Regions from separate parts of the Homo sapiens genome. Here regions 2, 3 and 4 are each linked to region 1. The links are contacts of gene promoters, found by promoter capture Hi-C in human tissues and cell types (Jung and others, 2019). All regions are on one chromosome and are shown on one strand. Each heading gives the region's core, a stretch centred on a gene start or on the middle of the fragment in contact. The rest is flanking DNA. Distances are from core to core; before and after follow the strand shown.

The links. Contacts are between HindIII fragments. The study calls those that stand out against the background at their distance.
Region 2: a contact is called between a fragment that was not itself captured here and the fragment with the promoter of CHP2 in region 1, in 3 of the 25 tissues and cell types used here (liver, pancreas and spleen).
Region 3: a fragment that was not itself captured here is called in contact with the fragment with the promoter of CHP2 in region 1 in 2 of the 25 tissues and cell types used here (H1 embryonic stem cells and dorsolateral prefrontal cortex).
Region 4: a fragment that was not itself captured here is called in contact with the fragment with the promoter of CHP2 in region 1 in 3 of the 25 tissues and cell types used here (dorsolateral prefrontal cortex, mesendoderm cells and spleen).

What each region holds. Positions count from the first base shown.
Region 1 is chr16:23,752,871-23,756,686 of GRCh38, forward strand. CHP2 (calcineurin like EF-hand protein 2) reads left to right here and starts at 2,156. Exons shown (of 7, transcript NM_022097.4): 1 at 2,156-2,246; 2 at 2,791-2,863; 3 at 2,977-3,057; 4 at 3,193-3,323; 5 at 3,518-3,579. The coding sequence starts at 2,180. RefSeq lists an enhancer at 2,044-2,689. The HindIII fragment of the contact is 8,876 bases long and covers 1-3,816 here.
Region 2 is chr16:23,884,568-23,888,164 of GRCh38, forward strand. The region is part of intron 2 of PRKCB (protein kinase C beta); the gene reads left to right. Among named protein-coding and RNA genes, the nearest start is that of PRKCB, 50 kb to the left of the region's middle. The HindIII fragment of the contact is 8,089 bases long and covers 1-3,597 here.
Region 3 is chr16:23,983,501-23,987,200 of GRCh38, forward strand. All of the region lies in intron 2 of PRKCB (protein kinase C beta), which reads left to right. Among named protein-coding and RNA genes, the nearest start is that of PRKCB, 150 kb to the left of the region's middle. The HindIII fragment of the contact is 4,596 bases long and covers 1-3,671 here.
Region 4 is chr16:23,930,860-23,934,294 of GRCh38, forward strand. All of the region lies in intron 2 of PRKCB (protein kinase C beta), which reads left to right. Among named protein-coding and RNA genes, the nearest start is that of PRKCB, 97 kb to the left of the region's middle. The HindIII fragment of the contact is 4,393 bases long and covers 1-3,435 here.

The sequences.
Region 1 (3,816 bases), core at 906-3,405:
GCACTTCTTAGATCAATATTTTCAAGACTTATCTGATGCAGGCCTCTGCCTGGGGCTGGAGGATAGACTGTTTCTTCAGCTTCTCTCTCTCCAGGGTGGATATGAACTTGAGCCCTTGCAATGAACTGCTTGCATGTTTTCCCCCCTGGGAAATTTGTGTATGTATGTGCAATTATGATGGGGGAAACGGTTTAAAGATACTTTCAAAAGTGGACACTTCTAGTGTTTGTCCCTTGACAAATGAGTTTCTCGACCTGTTTTTTTTTCATTATCAACGCCTCCCCTAGTCTTTTTAATTTCCCCACCCTCACCCCTACCCCATGAAATTTTATTTTCTTTCTTTTTTTTTTTTTGAGACCAAGTTTCGATCTTTTTGCCCAAGATGGTGTGCAATGGCGCGATCTAGGCTCACCTCAATCTCCACCTCCCGGGTTCAAGCGATTCTCCTGCCTCAGCCTCCCGAGTAGCTGGAATTACAGGCATGCACCACCACGCCCAGCTAATTTTGTATTTTTAGTAGAGACTGGGTTTCTCCATGTTGGTCAGTCTGGTCTCAAACTCCTGACCTCAGGTGATCCGCCCGTCTCGACCTCCCAAAGTGCTGGGATTACAGGCATAAGCCACCGCGCCCGGCCTCTTTTCTTTTCAAGACAGGGTCTCACTCTGTCACCCAGGCTGGAGTGTAATGGCGTGATCATGGCTCCCTGCAGCCTCAACCTCCTGGGCTCAAGTGATCCTCCTGTCTCAGACTCCCAAGTAGCTGAGACTACAGGCATGTGCCACGACACCTGGTTAATTTTTTTTTTTTGTATTCTTTTGTAGAGATGGGGTCTCACTATGTTGCCTAGGCTGGTCTTGAGCTCCTGGGCTCAAGCAATCCTCCTGCCTCTACCTCCCAAAGTGCTGGGATTACAGGCATGAGCCTCCACGTCTGCCCTGAAATTTCAATATCACAGCTATACTGTATATCTATTTATGTGCTGTATGTATGCTGTGCTTTGTACATAAAAAATATGTTTTATTTTTTGCCCCGTTGGGGTGAGATAGAGACCGCACTGAGAATGCACGCTTTACATAATTAGTTCACAACTTGCCCCCGGCAGCCTCCACCACGTAAAATTAGAAGAAAGCAGCCCAGCAGGGCCTACAAGGAATGTGTGAACGGATGCACGTAAAGTGCTTAGCAAAGCGTGGTAAACAAGAGCCCTTGTTGTCATTCTTGCTTTAAGCCTAGTCCCAGTGATGTCTGTAACCCTCTCTTGGGCCAAGGAGTCCCATGGCTCTGGAGGGCTGTTCAGAGGACTAAGTCATTCCCAGTCTGGAGCTCTACGGGATCAGTAGGTACCTAAGGGAGTGAATTGGGCTTGGAGGGACTGTGGCCAGAAGACAGCTCTGGGCCTGGTGGTGATAGAACTTCTGATTTCTCAGGAAAAGCCAAGAATGTGGATTTTGGGTTAAATCTCCTGAATTTTAAGCATTGGCTCAATTAAACAACAATAAGGCAATGTGAACCGAACAAAAGGGATGAAACCAAGATTTACTGACTTTCCCAGAGTCACGGGCACGGCTGGGATTCCAACAAGGACTCCCAAACCAGTGCTCTTTCCACTTAACCTAACGCACACCCTTCATCTCGCCGCCCCTCCCCACTTCCCCGTCTTTGGGAGTTCTTCGATGCCTCTTCCCCCCTCCCCCCAGGATTCCCTCCCCATAGGCCACCCGCCTTCCAGCAGGGCGTGGTCTCTACAGAGGAGGTCAGGTCTCCCAGGCTTCCTCAGCGTCGACGCCGGGGAGCGCCCTGGGGTTGGGAGCGCCCGGGGCCCGCGAAGGAGGAGGTGGCTCAGGTGTCAGGGCGCACCGTGGGAACCGGCCCCGGGGGAGGCGTGGAAACGCGGGGCCTGGGACTCGACCAGCCTCTCCCGTGCGGATCGCAAAATCTCGGAGCTGAAACAGCCCGTTGTTCGCAGCCTCCCTCTGACCCGCCACCCTGCACATTGTTTTCCATTCGCCCGGGTCGCGGGTGGGAGGAGAGGCACGCCGGGGTTCTGGAGCTTGGCCGCGCGCCAGGCTTGTGGCCTTCGTCCCCCTGGGGCCACTGGGGCGGCCACGCCTCTCCGGCGGGAGGAGAGAACGCGTGGGTCCGGGTGGCTGCTCCGGCCCTTCCGCCTCCAGCTCGGCCATGGGGTCGCGCAGCTCCCACGCCGCGGTCATTCCCGACGGGGACAGTATTCGGCGAGAGACCGGCTGTGAGTGCGCCCGCGTCGGCGGCTGCGGAGGGGACGGGGCGAACCCAGGCGTCTGGGGCTAGGGAAGGGGTTGGGTTGAAGGATGGACGAACTTACAAGTCTGGGGTCCGGGGCTCCCCGGAGCTGGAAGACCAAGGCCCCTGTGCCTGGGATCGCTGGGTTAGGGGCGGGTTAACCTAGGGGTCCCAGCCTCCAAGTCTGGGGAGGATCCGGGTTCACGGGGTCGGAGTCCAGAGGAATCCAGGCACCCAGGTGTCCTCCAGCCCGGCTCGAAGCTGAAGGCAGAGCTGACGGCGGTTGGAAGGGATGGCTTTGGTTCTTTGGTTTTCGGGAGGTTGCGAGCCGCCCGGGTCTTGAACCTGGATCTTCGCGGGGTCGTGTCACTCTCCCTCCGCCCCGGCCAGCTCAACCCCTGATTCCCCGGGATGATCGCCCCTTCCAGCCAGCCCCCGCTGTTCTGGCCCATCTTCCTGGCCTGTTGGGGCGGGTTTCTGGAGCTGGCCCTGCAGAGTCACACACCCCCACCCCACTCTCCTTCCCGCAGTCTCCCAAGCCAGCCTGCTCCGCCTGCACCACCGGTTCCGGGCACTGGACAGGAATAAGAAGGGCTACCTGAGGTGAGGGGGAGCCGGCCTCATAACTTCTGGCCTCTGTCTCTCTGACTCCATGTCCCTCTTTGACCCTCCGTCTGGCATCTCTGCCTTACCCTCTTTGAAATTTGGCTTTGCAGCCGCATGGATCTCCAGCAGATAGGGGCGCTCGCCGTGAACCCCCTGGGAGACCGAATTATAGAAAGCTTCTTCCCCGATGGGTGAGGCTTGCTGGGCGTGGGGAGGTGAAGGCGGGAAAACCGGTGTGTGAGTGGGTGGGAGGGGAGGTTAGAGACGGAGGCAAAGTGATGGCCAAGGTGACCACCACCTCTTTCCATTCTGTCCCGTCTCCCCAGGAGCCAGCGAGTGGATTTCCCAGGCTTTGTCAGGGTCTTGGCTCATTTTCGCCCTGTAGAAGATGAGGACACAGAAACCCAAGACCCCAAGAAACCTGAACCTCTCAACAGCAGAAGGAACAAACTTCACTGTGAGTTTGTGAGGACCTGCACAAGTGAGAATGCAGATGTACCCACACCAGGGACAGGCTCCAGGGATCTCCCACTCCCTTCCTGAGGGCATTGACAACCTCCCCCCTCCTCCAAGGTGGGGGGAAGGAAGGTGGCTGCTGGAAGAGAGCCAGGGAAGACCTACCTTCCTTTCCCCCTCCCACCCTCTCCCCAGATGCATTTCAGCTCTATGACCTGGATCGCGATGGGAAGATCTCCAGGCATGAGATGCTGCAGGTTGGCAGAAAGCGAGAGCAAGAGATGTGATGTGTGAAGGATGGGATGGTTAAATGCAATGGTGTGAGAGATGGGGTGGGATGATTGGGGAACTGGGGCGCAGATAATTGGGGTATTGGTTGGGAAATGGGAATGGGTGCAGTTAGAGTGTGGGTTTGTTGGGAGTCGGAGTGGGGAGCAGTTGACTATGAGGTTGGGAATAGATCAGTGATTCTCAACTGGGGGTGATTTTGCTCC
Region 2 (3,597 bases), core at 606-3,105, 130 kb after region 1:
TCTGTCGCCTAGACTGGAATGCAGTGGTGTGACCGTAGCTCACTGCAGCTTCAATCTCTTGGCCTAAAACAATCCTCCCACCTCAGCCTCCTAAGTAGCTGGGACTACAGGAACACACCACCATGCCTGGCTAATTTTTTTATTTTTATTTTTTGTAGCTGCAAGGTCTCACTGTGTTGCCCAGACTGGTCTCAAACTCCTGGACTCAAGCAGTCCTCCCACCTCAGCCTCCCAAAGTGCTAGGATGACAGGTGTGAGCCACAATGCCTAGCCCATATCTCCTTTTCTTTTGTGGCATTCTAGTAGCCCTTTGGTTCATGCGATCATTTAGTTGTTCAGCAAATATGGATGATTGAATGGATATAATAGGTGCAGGGCACTCCCAGGTTCTCAAGATGGATGATCTTGGGCAAGTTATTTAATTTCTCTGGATTTTAGTTTCCTTGCCAGCAAACTCAAGATAATAGTAATGCCTACTTTTAAGTAGTTATTGTGAAGATTATAAGGAATTAACAATAACGATAATAATAAGTAATAATGATACATGTTGTTTATTAGAGCCTGCTATATGCCAGACACTAACTCTATGATTTAACCTTCTCCTGCTACCCTTTACTCTTATTATTTCTTTAGGAGTGAAATTCACTAATCATTAAGCTTTTTAACTAACTGAATCAATTCTGTTTCTTAAGCAGATGGGAGATCCTGTGGCTTTTTACCACTATCCACAGCTCTTTTTTTCTTTTTCTTTTCTTTTTTGAGACGGAGTCTTGCTCTGTCACCCAGGCTGGAGTGCAGTGGCATGATCTCGGCTCACTGCAGTCTCCGCCTCCCTAGTTCAAGCCATTCTCCTGCCTCAGCCTCCCGAGTAGCTGAGGTTATAGGCGCCCGCCACCACGCCCAGCTAATTTTTGTATTTTTAGTAGAGATGGGGTTTCACCATCTTGGCCAGGCTGGTCTCAAACTCCTGACCTAGTGATCTACCTGCCTTGGCCTCCCAAAGTGCTGGGATTACAGGCATGAGCCACTGTGCCTGGCCTATCCACAGCTGGTTTCCCCTCTTTGCCCCCTTTTCTGGCATTCTCTTCTGATTCACTCTCAACTCTGATTTCCAAGCTACCCAGCTCCTTCCCCTAGTGTGAATCTGTATTTGCACTGGATTTATTTTTAAATGGGAAATGAAAGCCACTGTGTGCTGGAAAATATATATTTCAGACACGAGGAAGCTGGCGGGGAAATATTTTTTGGATGTCTTTCTAGATCTCTTAAAAATCCTGTGAGCCATCACCAGGTTGATCTTGTAGTAAGGTGGCCTTGGCCTTAGTGTATTTCTTTTTGACTCGATATTGGGCGGCAGGAGGTTTGAGGATTGTGATACTAACAACATTAACAACAACAAACTTTCATTGATTGATTGCCATGTGCTGGAAATGTGCTAATAAATTACATTTATTTTCTCTTTGAATCCTCAAACCAACTCTTTGAGACAAGTGTGTTGTATTACAGCTGTAGAAACTGAGGTCCTAAGAGGTCAGTAGATTTGCTGAAGGTCACAGAGCTGAGATCCAAATCTAAGCATCACAGCAAGAAGTATCCTTAACCATCATCTTTGCTGTTGGTTGGCATTAGTCTGGCTGTGCTAAGAAAGTTTCCTTTGACTTGCAGATGGATCAAGGCTTTTCTTGAGAGAGGCTTCTCTTGCCTGGTTCTCCTTGATTCTTTTACTCTAGGAGACTCAGTTCTTCTCAAATCCCTGTCTGTGGGACTTTGGGCAAAACATTCAACGTCATCTTTACCTCTTAGAGTCACTGCGAGGGTTGGACTATGGTGTGTTAGGTGTTTTTTTTTTTTTTTTTTTTTTTTTTGATGAAGTCTCACTCTGTCGCCCAGGCTGGAGTGCAATGGCATGATCTTGGCTCACTGCAACCTCCGCCTCCTGGGTTCAACCGATTCTTCTGCCTCAGCCTCCTGAGTAGCTGGGATTACAGGCACGCACCACCACGCCTGACTAATTTTTGTATTTTTAGTAGAGACGAGGTTTCACTATGTTGGCCAGGCTGGTCTCGAACTCCTGACCTCAAGTGATCGGCCTGCCTTGGCCTCCCGAAGTGCTGGGATTACAGGCGTGAGCCACCGTGCCCAGCCGTGTTATGAGTTGAACAGATTTCTTGGCTTCAGCAGGGGCTCAGTATGGGCCTATCATCATTTTCATTTATCTCCTTTTATGCCTCATGCTCTATCTGTCCCCTTCATCTCTGCCTGTAGCAGCCACAGACCCTCTCTTTCCTTGGTGCATGTCCCTCCTTCCCACTTTCCTAATTTCAGCCTGACTTAGTTCTCTACCTGTCAGCTTGGACTTAAGGAAAGGAAGTTCTCTTTTCTTGGGGGGTCACTGGGGCCATGGGCGTCTTTCCACTCCATTTCTTTTCCAAAGCTGCCTCTGGAACGAATCTGTAAATCCCAGGGCATTGCATGAGTTTTCTTTTCTTTCTTTCCTTCTTTCTTTCTCTCTCTTTCTTTCCTTCTTGCTTTCTTGCTTTCTTTCTTGCTTTCTTGCTTTCTGTCACTGAAAGCAAATATTGTAGACAGATATGCTTGTAGGATAGAAATAAAATGCCCCATTCTTTGAAACATATTTTGTTTTTTATTTTAGATTCATGGAGTATGTGTGCAAGTTTGTCACATGGGTATATTGCGTGATGCTGAGGTTTAGGCAATGAACTTGTTACCCAAATAGTGAGCATAGTACCCAGTAGGTAGTTTTTAAACCGTTACCCCCTTCTCTCCCTCCTTTCCGAGTTCCCAGTGTCTGTTGTTTCCATATTTGTGTCTGTGTATACCCCTTGTTTAGCTTCCACTATAGGTGAGAACATGTGGTATTTGGTTTTCTGTTTTTCTGTGATAATTCACTTAGGATAATGGCCTTCAGCTGCATCCATGTTGCTGCAAAGGACATGATTTCATTTTTTTTATGGCTGTGTAGTATTCCATAGTGTATATGCACCACATTTTCTTTATCCAATCCATTGTTGATGGGCACCTAGGTGGATTCCATGTTTTTGCTGTTATGGACAGTGATGCAATAAACATGAGAGTGAAGGTGTCTTTTTGGTGGAATGATGTGTTTTCCTTTGGGTATATACCCAGTAATGGGAATGCTGGATTGAATGGCAATTCTATTTTTAGTTCTTTGAGAAGTCTCTAAACTGCTTCCCAGAGGGGCTGAACTAATTTACAATTTCACCAACAGTGTAAGAGCGTCCTTTTTTCTCCGTAATCTCACCAAGGCACTGCATAAGCTATCTGAGTGGCCAGCAGGCAGAATGCTTGAAGGATTCTCCAGCTGGGGGTGCTGGGCCCAAAGGCTGGCAGCTGTATGGTCCTGGCCTTTTTCTCTCCAGCAGGGTCCCCATGATCTTCCCAGGTCTAGTTTTTTCTTGAGCACACCTGCATCTGACAGTTAATTGCAAGAATCTGACTTGCTGAACTCTCATTTCTCCCTCCTCCTTTAGCGCATCAAGTCCCCTTCTTTGTTTTCCCAGCTTGGTTCTTGCAAGGACTACCTAGAGGAGGACTTCAGGCAATCCCTTTCTCCCT
Region 3 (3,700 bases), core at 124-2,623, 230 kb after region 1:
GGCGATCATCCAGGAGCTACATCTACCATGAAGTTGGTTATGTTTTCTCCTTTTTCTATGACTGATGATATTCATTTTTTGGTTCATTCATTCACCAAACATTTATTTACTGAATATCAATTATGTACCAGGAATTGTGGTAGACACTAGGAGACTAGAGATGAGCTATCTTTATCCCCTTCTGTCTCCAAAGGGGATAAAGATGAATAAGATAATAATTGATTTTTTTTTTTGAGACAGAGTCTCGCTCTGTCTCTTAGGCTGGAGTGCAGTGGCGTGATCTCGGCTCACTGCAGCCTCTGCCTCCCTGGTTCCAGTGATTCTCCTGCCTCAGTCTCCTGGGTAGCTGGGATTACCGGGGCCTGCCACCACACTTTGCTAATTTTTGTATTTTTTGTAGAGAATAACTGATATTTTAGATGTTTGGAAGAAAGGTTGTAGAATAAAGCACCTACTTGAAAATGGGGGAAACTACTTTCCTAAATATTTCTGGGTCAAAGAATAAATTAAAACCATACTAATAGACCACTTAGAAACTTGATACAATGATGGGACTAAATATAAAACATAGGATGCAGCCAAAACTGTACTTAAAAGAGGGTTTTTAGCCATAACATCTTTAAATGTTTAATGAAGAGGAATGGGAATAAATTAATTGAGCAGTCAATTCAAGAAGCTTTAAAAAGAACAGTGGATAATATTAGCTGACATTTGTAGAATAGTCATGATATGGTTGGCATGGTTCTGGGCATGGAATAACTCATTTAGTTCTGACAACACCACTGTGATATGGGTCCTATTGTTGCTGTCATTTTCCAGAGAGGAAACTGAAGTACAGGAAGATGAGGTAGTGTACCTAGTCTTAGAGTTTGCAAATGATAGACACAGGATATACACCTGATCATCAGACTCCAGAATTCACATTCCCAACCAATAAGTAATACAAATACAAGTAAGCAATACAATCACAGACACACAGAACAAAAAAAGTTAAAGTAGCAATTAATAAAGTAGGCTAAAACCAGGTAGAGTTGATAAATATAATCATAATCTGCTTCTTTAACATGATAGAAAGATAAAAATAGACAAGAAAGAACACAAACTTCTGGAAAAAAAATAACGAGAGACTACCTAACAATGCAATATGAAGAAAGAAACAAAGAAAGAGAAAAGGTGTAATATCATCCCAGATAAGATGCTACAATTTAAACACGTTGAGAAGAACACTGTGGATAATTTCCAAGGAAAATATAAATTCCAAAAGTTTGTTTGAGTAGAGGTGAAAAACTTTCCTGTGTGGTTGAAGTGTAGAGAGGGAGAGGGAGGTGAAGCTGGGGAAAGCTCAGGGATGGGGCGAGACTATGCTGTCATCCCTTTACTTTCATGTTGAATAAAAGGGAAAGTTAAACATGGAACTACGACAGGGGGAAAAGAGAGAATAATAAAAATATTATTTGGGGTAATACGGTTTTCTATCTGGAAAACTCAAAGGAAGCAACTAAAACTCCACAAAAGCTATTTGAGTTTTTTTAAAAAATGCTTTAAAATAAATATGCTAACAATCTATTGCTTTCCTATTGTTTTTGTTTGTTTGTTTGTTTTGTGTTTTGAGATGGAGTCTCGCTCTGTTGCCCAGGCTGGAGTGCAGTGGCATGATATTGGCTCACTTCAACCTCCGCCTCCTGGGTTCAAGCAATCTACTGCCTCAGCCTTCCAAGTACCTGGGACTACTACAGGCACCTACCACCACGCCCAGCTAATTTTTTTTGTATTTTTAATAGAGACGGGGTTTCACCATGTTGGCCAGGCTGGTCTCGAACTTCTGGCCTCAAGTGATCTGCCTGCCTCAGTCTCCCAAAGTGCTAGGATTACAGGCATGAACCACTGCGCACAGCTATTTGCTTTCCTATTTTTAAACAATGACCAGTTGGGAAACAAAATGAAGACATGTCAAATTTACAATAGCATAAAAAAGAATCCCTTAGATGATGCTAAAGGGAAAATGTGTAGGACTTATATGGAGAAAATAAGAGTTCAACAAGGGGACAATCATTTCCTGATGGAAAGACTCATTGTTGTCAAGGCATCAATTATCTTGAATTTAATTTCTAAATTTAACACAATTTCAATCAAAGTCCCAATCATTTTTTGGAGGCTGAGGGTTGACTGAATACAATCCCAATAAAAATTCCATTGGTATTTTTAAAATCTTGATAAACTGATTCTAAAGTTTACTTGGAAGAATAAATATGCAGTGATAGCCAAGAAAATGTTGAAAATAAGGATAATGAGGGTGGACTTGCCCTGCCAAGATATAACATATTACAGAGCTACTATAATTAAAGCCCATATTGCTATACTAGAAGACAGATCAGTGGCACAGAATAGAAGGCCCAAAGACAGACCCCAGTATATATAATTATTAAACATATAATAAAGTTGGCATTTGAAATCAGTGGGGAAGGGATGAATTATTCAATAAAGGATGCTGGGACAATTGGTTACCTCTTTGGAAAAAAATGGCAAATTGGATTCCCATTTCACATCAGATTCCAAGAAATTAGACATGGATCAAAGAGTTTAAAGTGGAAATGATGCCATATAAAAGTACAAAAAAACTCCAAAGAGTAATATTTATATGACCTTGGAGCATGAAGAAGGCTGTTTGAGGTGTACTTGGACTGTCTTTCTTTGTCCAGTTTTCCCTTTTAGTGGTTTAAAAGGAATACATAGTAGTTTTTATATTTTTATTTATTTATGTATTTATTTTTGAAACAGGGTCTCATTAGGTCACCCAGGCTGGAGTGCAGTGGTGCAGTCATGGCTCACTGCAGCCCCAACTTCCTGGGCTCAAGCGATCCTCCCACCTCAGCCTCCGGAGTAGCTGGACTGCAGGCATGCACCACCATGTCTGGCTAATCTTTTATTTTTTGTAGAGATGGGGTCTCACTATGTTGCCCAGGTTGGTCTTAAACTCCTGGGCTCAAGTGATCCTCCTGCCTTGGTGTCCCAAAGTGCTGGGATTACAGATGTGAGCCACCACACCCGGTTTCTATTCTTATTTTTAATACTTAATTGTTAACACGTATATTTAAACTTATAATGTCCTATATGCAATTTCTCAATATCAATAATCTTTTGAGGAATATAAGACTCAGCACATTTTCATCTTGTAACCCTCCTGCAACTCCCATTTCTTATGACTTGGGTTTTCTCTACTTCTCTATCTCTTCCTCTGTTGAAAACTTTTCATATTATGGAAAAAATTAAACATATATAAAAGTAACATTAGTATAATGCATCCTTGTGTATGCATCACCCAGTTCAATAATGACCCATCATGATCAATTTCTTTTTCATCTGTAATCCTCCCCTTTCTCTCCCCACCTTGGCATACTGAATTATTTTAAATTATTTTATCCATAAAGATGTTAATGTATCCTCAAAGATAAGGATTCTATAAGCAAAGAAAAACAAGACCATTATCACACCAAATATTTTTCATTCCCTAATATCAGTAACAATAATTCCCTTATGTCATCAGAAAGTGAGTATATCCATTTCCCTGATTGCCTTACAGTTTTTTAAACTGTTGGTTTTTTTCCACTTAGAATCCAAACAAGGTCCACATGTTAAATTTAGTTGATATGGGTTGATAGGTGCAGCAAACCACCATGGCACATGTATACCTGTGTAACAA
Region 4 (3,435 bases), core at 642-3,141, 180 kb after region 1:
TCAAGTGGTAAATGCTATTACTTTGTAAATATCATCGATGAGGAACCTGAAGCTCACAGAGGTTGATGACTTGCCTAGGATCGCTCAGAAAGCAGGCAGCAGAGCTGATTGCCATGGTAACCATTTCCAAGCTTCAGTGCCCAGAGATGGACCCAGTCTGGCATGGGCTTATCCCCTGGAGCACTGTGAGTGTCTTGACAGATAAGTAAAGGAAGTCTTTAATTTCTGAAAAATGCCCAGCTGTGATTGGCATTGTTAGGGGTCAGTGAAGACACGCTCAAAGACCTTACTGTCCAGCTTTTTTATCTTTCACCTTTAATGCCGCTGTTAGCCCCAGGAGCTAACCAAAGGGGAGTTTTCTTTATCAGTTCCAAGAGGGATGCCATGGTTGTCCCAAGATTCTGGAGCTAAAGGTGGGACCAGGACCAGAATTCAGTTTCTGTGTTTCCAAATTCAGTTCTATTCTCCTCTCAGTAGACCAGGAGGCCTCCAGACAAGACAGATGGCAGACAGCTACAGTAGTTTAAAATAGCCTGAGCTCACTTCTGAGGTAGACATGTGCGTGGAGTGAGCTGGAAGACAGGGACCCCTGTGTGGGAAAGATTTTGGCAAAGAGAAGCCCAGTGGGGAGTTCTGATGCTAGGCTGAGTGTCATCAGGTTGGGGTGAGGGTGTGAGAAGAGACCTGAGCAGGTGCCAACCTGAGGCTGAGTGGGGAGGAGAGAAGCGAGAGGACAGGTGCCAGGCAAGATGCGGCACTGCCAATCAGTAGAAGCTTCCTCCCTCCTTTCCAGCTGTGCTACCGAGACGGGGAGGTCAGGTGGTCGTTCTGGGAGGGCTGGTGCCTTTTACTTCCCGGCCTTCTGGCCTGCTGGGTCTTGGAGTCCAGTGCAAAATAATGAAGTTCCTATAAAGACAGTTTGTATAGATCCTTTTAGGATGACTTGAAAGCCTATGCATTTCCTTAACAATGATCAATTCTTGGCTAATCCTCTTTCATCCATATCCGCACCCAATGCTTTTCACTCCATTTCCATACTGGATGTTTTGAAATAAATCCCAGACACCATATAATTTCAGTAATTATCAATCTCAATATCACAGAAAGTCAAATAGACATTATATATCTTCTAATATGATGCAAATAGAAGTGGCCAATGCTATCTATGCAATATTATTACTAAAGATCTAACCAAATTTACAGGAAATACAGAGAATATGTAGGAAATTCTACATAGAAATAACTTGATTTCTTCACGAAACCAATGGCATGGAAGTGTGAAAAAAATAGAATTAAAAGATATAGCAATCTAAGATAGTGTGTGGACCTCATTTGGAAATAAATTCAAACAAATCATCCATAAAGAAAACATTGTGAGATAATCAAGGAGAAGGAAACATTAACTGAAATATAAAATGATAATAAAGAATTGTTATTGCTTTTACTGGGTGGGATAATGGAATTGTGGTTGCTTTTTTGTTGTTCTTATCTGTGGAGATATGCTGAAGAATTTATGGGTAAAATAAAACTAAGCGATGCTAGGTGGGGAGGAACCTATGCATTTCCTATTTTTTGGCAAAAAGGCCCCAAGGTGTAGTCCCTAGCACCTATGTTCGAACAATGTGACCCAGCATTCCTGCTGATCCCTGACTGAACCAGGTATGGCTCCACTTGATCCTCTCTCTGGGGACTGGGAGTTAGCATTCAGAAATGCCAGCTAGCCTCCATCAACAGCAGACTGGAAGGATCAGGCATCTCAGGAATCATGCAATGTGCATCAAAAAATAGAGAAAGCTTATCTTCAGAGAGACAGACAAGTGAAGCTGGCTCAGAGGTCATGTGGACCAGAGGGATGGGGGAAGCAGTTGCCTTGGTTCCTGACAATCCTGCATTGAAGTCAAACTGCTGTTCCTTTCCCTGGTTTCTGTTTCCTTGTAACAGACTTATTCCTTTGCTTGAACTGGGGGCTTTTAGTGGGGTTCTGTTGCTTGCAAATCTTAAGTACTCTGAGAAACAGCTAAGGAGATGAAGATGGAAAACTTTGTCATGAAGGGAATGGGTTACTGGAATCTTTCTGGAGGGAGAATTTCAGAATTACGAGGATGCAGTTCTGATTGAAGGGGGTCTTGTGGGTATCTGGGATTTGGAAGTGAGAATGAATGCTGTAGCAGATGCTATTAGCTACCCATCCAATGGCGATTCCTTCTTTGTTTCTAGTTTTGTTCGGTGGCAATGTGCCCAGGGGACAGTGCATGCATGACCCATGATTATTTCCCTTTCAGTGATTGGTCTGGAAGTGGGCACTGGACCCAGTTTGGGTCATGTAGGAAAGACTCTTTCTTTTCATCCTTTCTTCCTGCTCTGGAGGCTGTTAGGTGAGGACATAATTGTTGGAGCTATGGCAGCCACATTATGACTATGAACAGGTGCCTAGATTTGTAGCAACACTGACTGAGAGCACTGTCATTCTTGAGACACTCATACCTCCTTCTTTCAGACTTTATTATTTTGGGGATGATATTTATTGATGAGCCCCTTTTGGTTAAGTTGCATATGGTTGGCTCTTCTGTTAATTCAAGCCAGAAGATTCTTAATTGATACAGTTAGGCTTCATAATTTGGAGGTTTGGGAGGAAAATGAGGTGAAAGAGCATGCATTGTTGGGGAAGATAATATTTTAAATCAGAAAATTAACATTTTCTACCAGAAGACCTTCAATTATTATATTATAGACTGGTTTGCAGAGCCTTTTGAGAGTGGTGTGAACTGATATCCATCCATCCATCCATCCATCCATCCATCCATCCATCCATCCATCATCTTCTGTTTGTTGATTTTCTATCCATCCATCCATTCATCCATCCATCTATCCATCCATCCATTCGTCCATCCATCTATCCATCTATCCACTCCATCCATCCATCCATCCATCCATCCATCCATCCATCCACCCATCCATCCATCTTCTGTTTGTCGATTTTCTATTCATCCATCCATCCATCCATCCATCCATCCATCCATCATCTTGTTTGTCAATTTTCTACCCATCCATCCATCCATCCTTCCATTCATCCATCCATCCATCCATCCATCCACCTACCTCATCCATCCATCCATCCATCCATCCATCCATCATCTTCTGTTTGTTGATTTTCTACCCACTCATCCATCCATCCATCCATCCATCCATCCATCCACCCATTTGACTTTCTTTTTACGAAACTTTCCCTTTGATCAATGGAGGATTTCCTTCCTGGACTTGCTTGGTTCTGTCTATTATCAGCTGGGTATAAAATGCTTTTCCTTCTTCAGTTAGGTCACGTGTAGAGAATTGATATTAGATAGCTATGGTGAGGAGTGAATGGGATTCTGCCTGGCCTCTCTCTAGGGACACTTTGCCTTCTGCAGTGTCTGGCATTTCTAAGAAACGTTGATT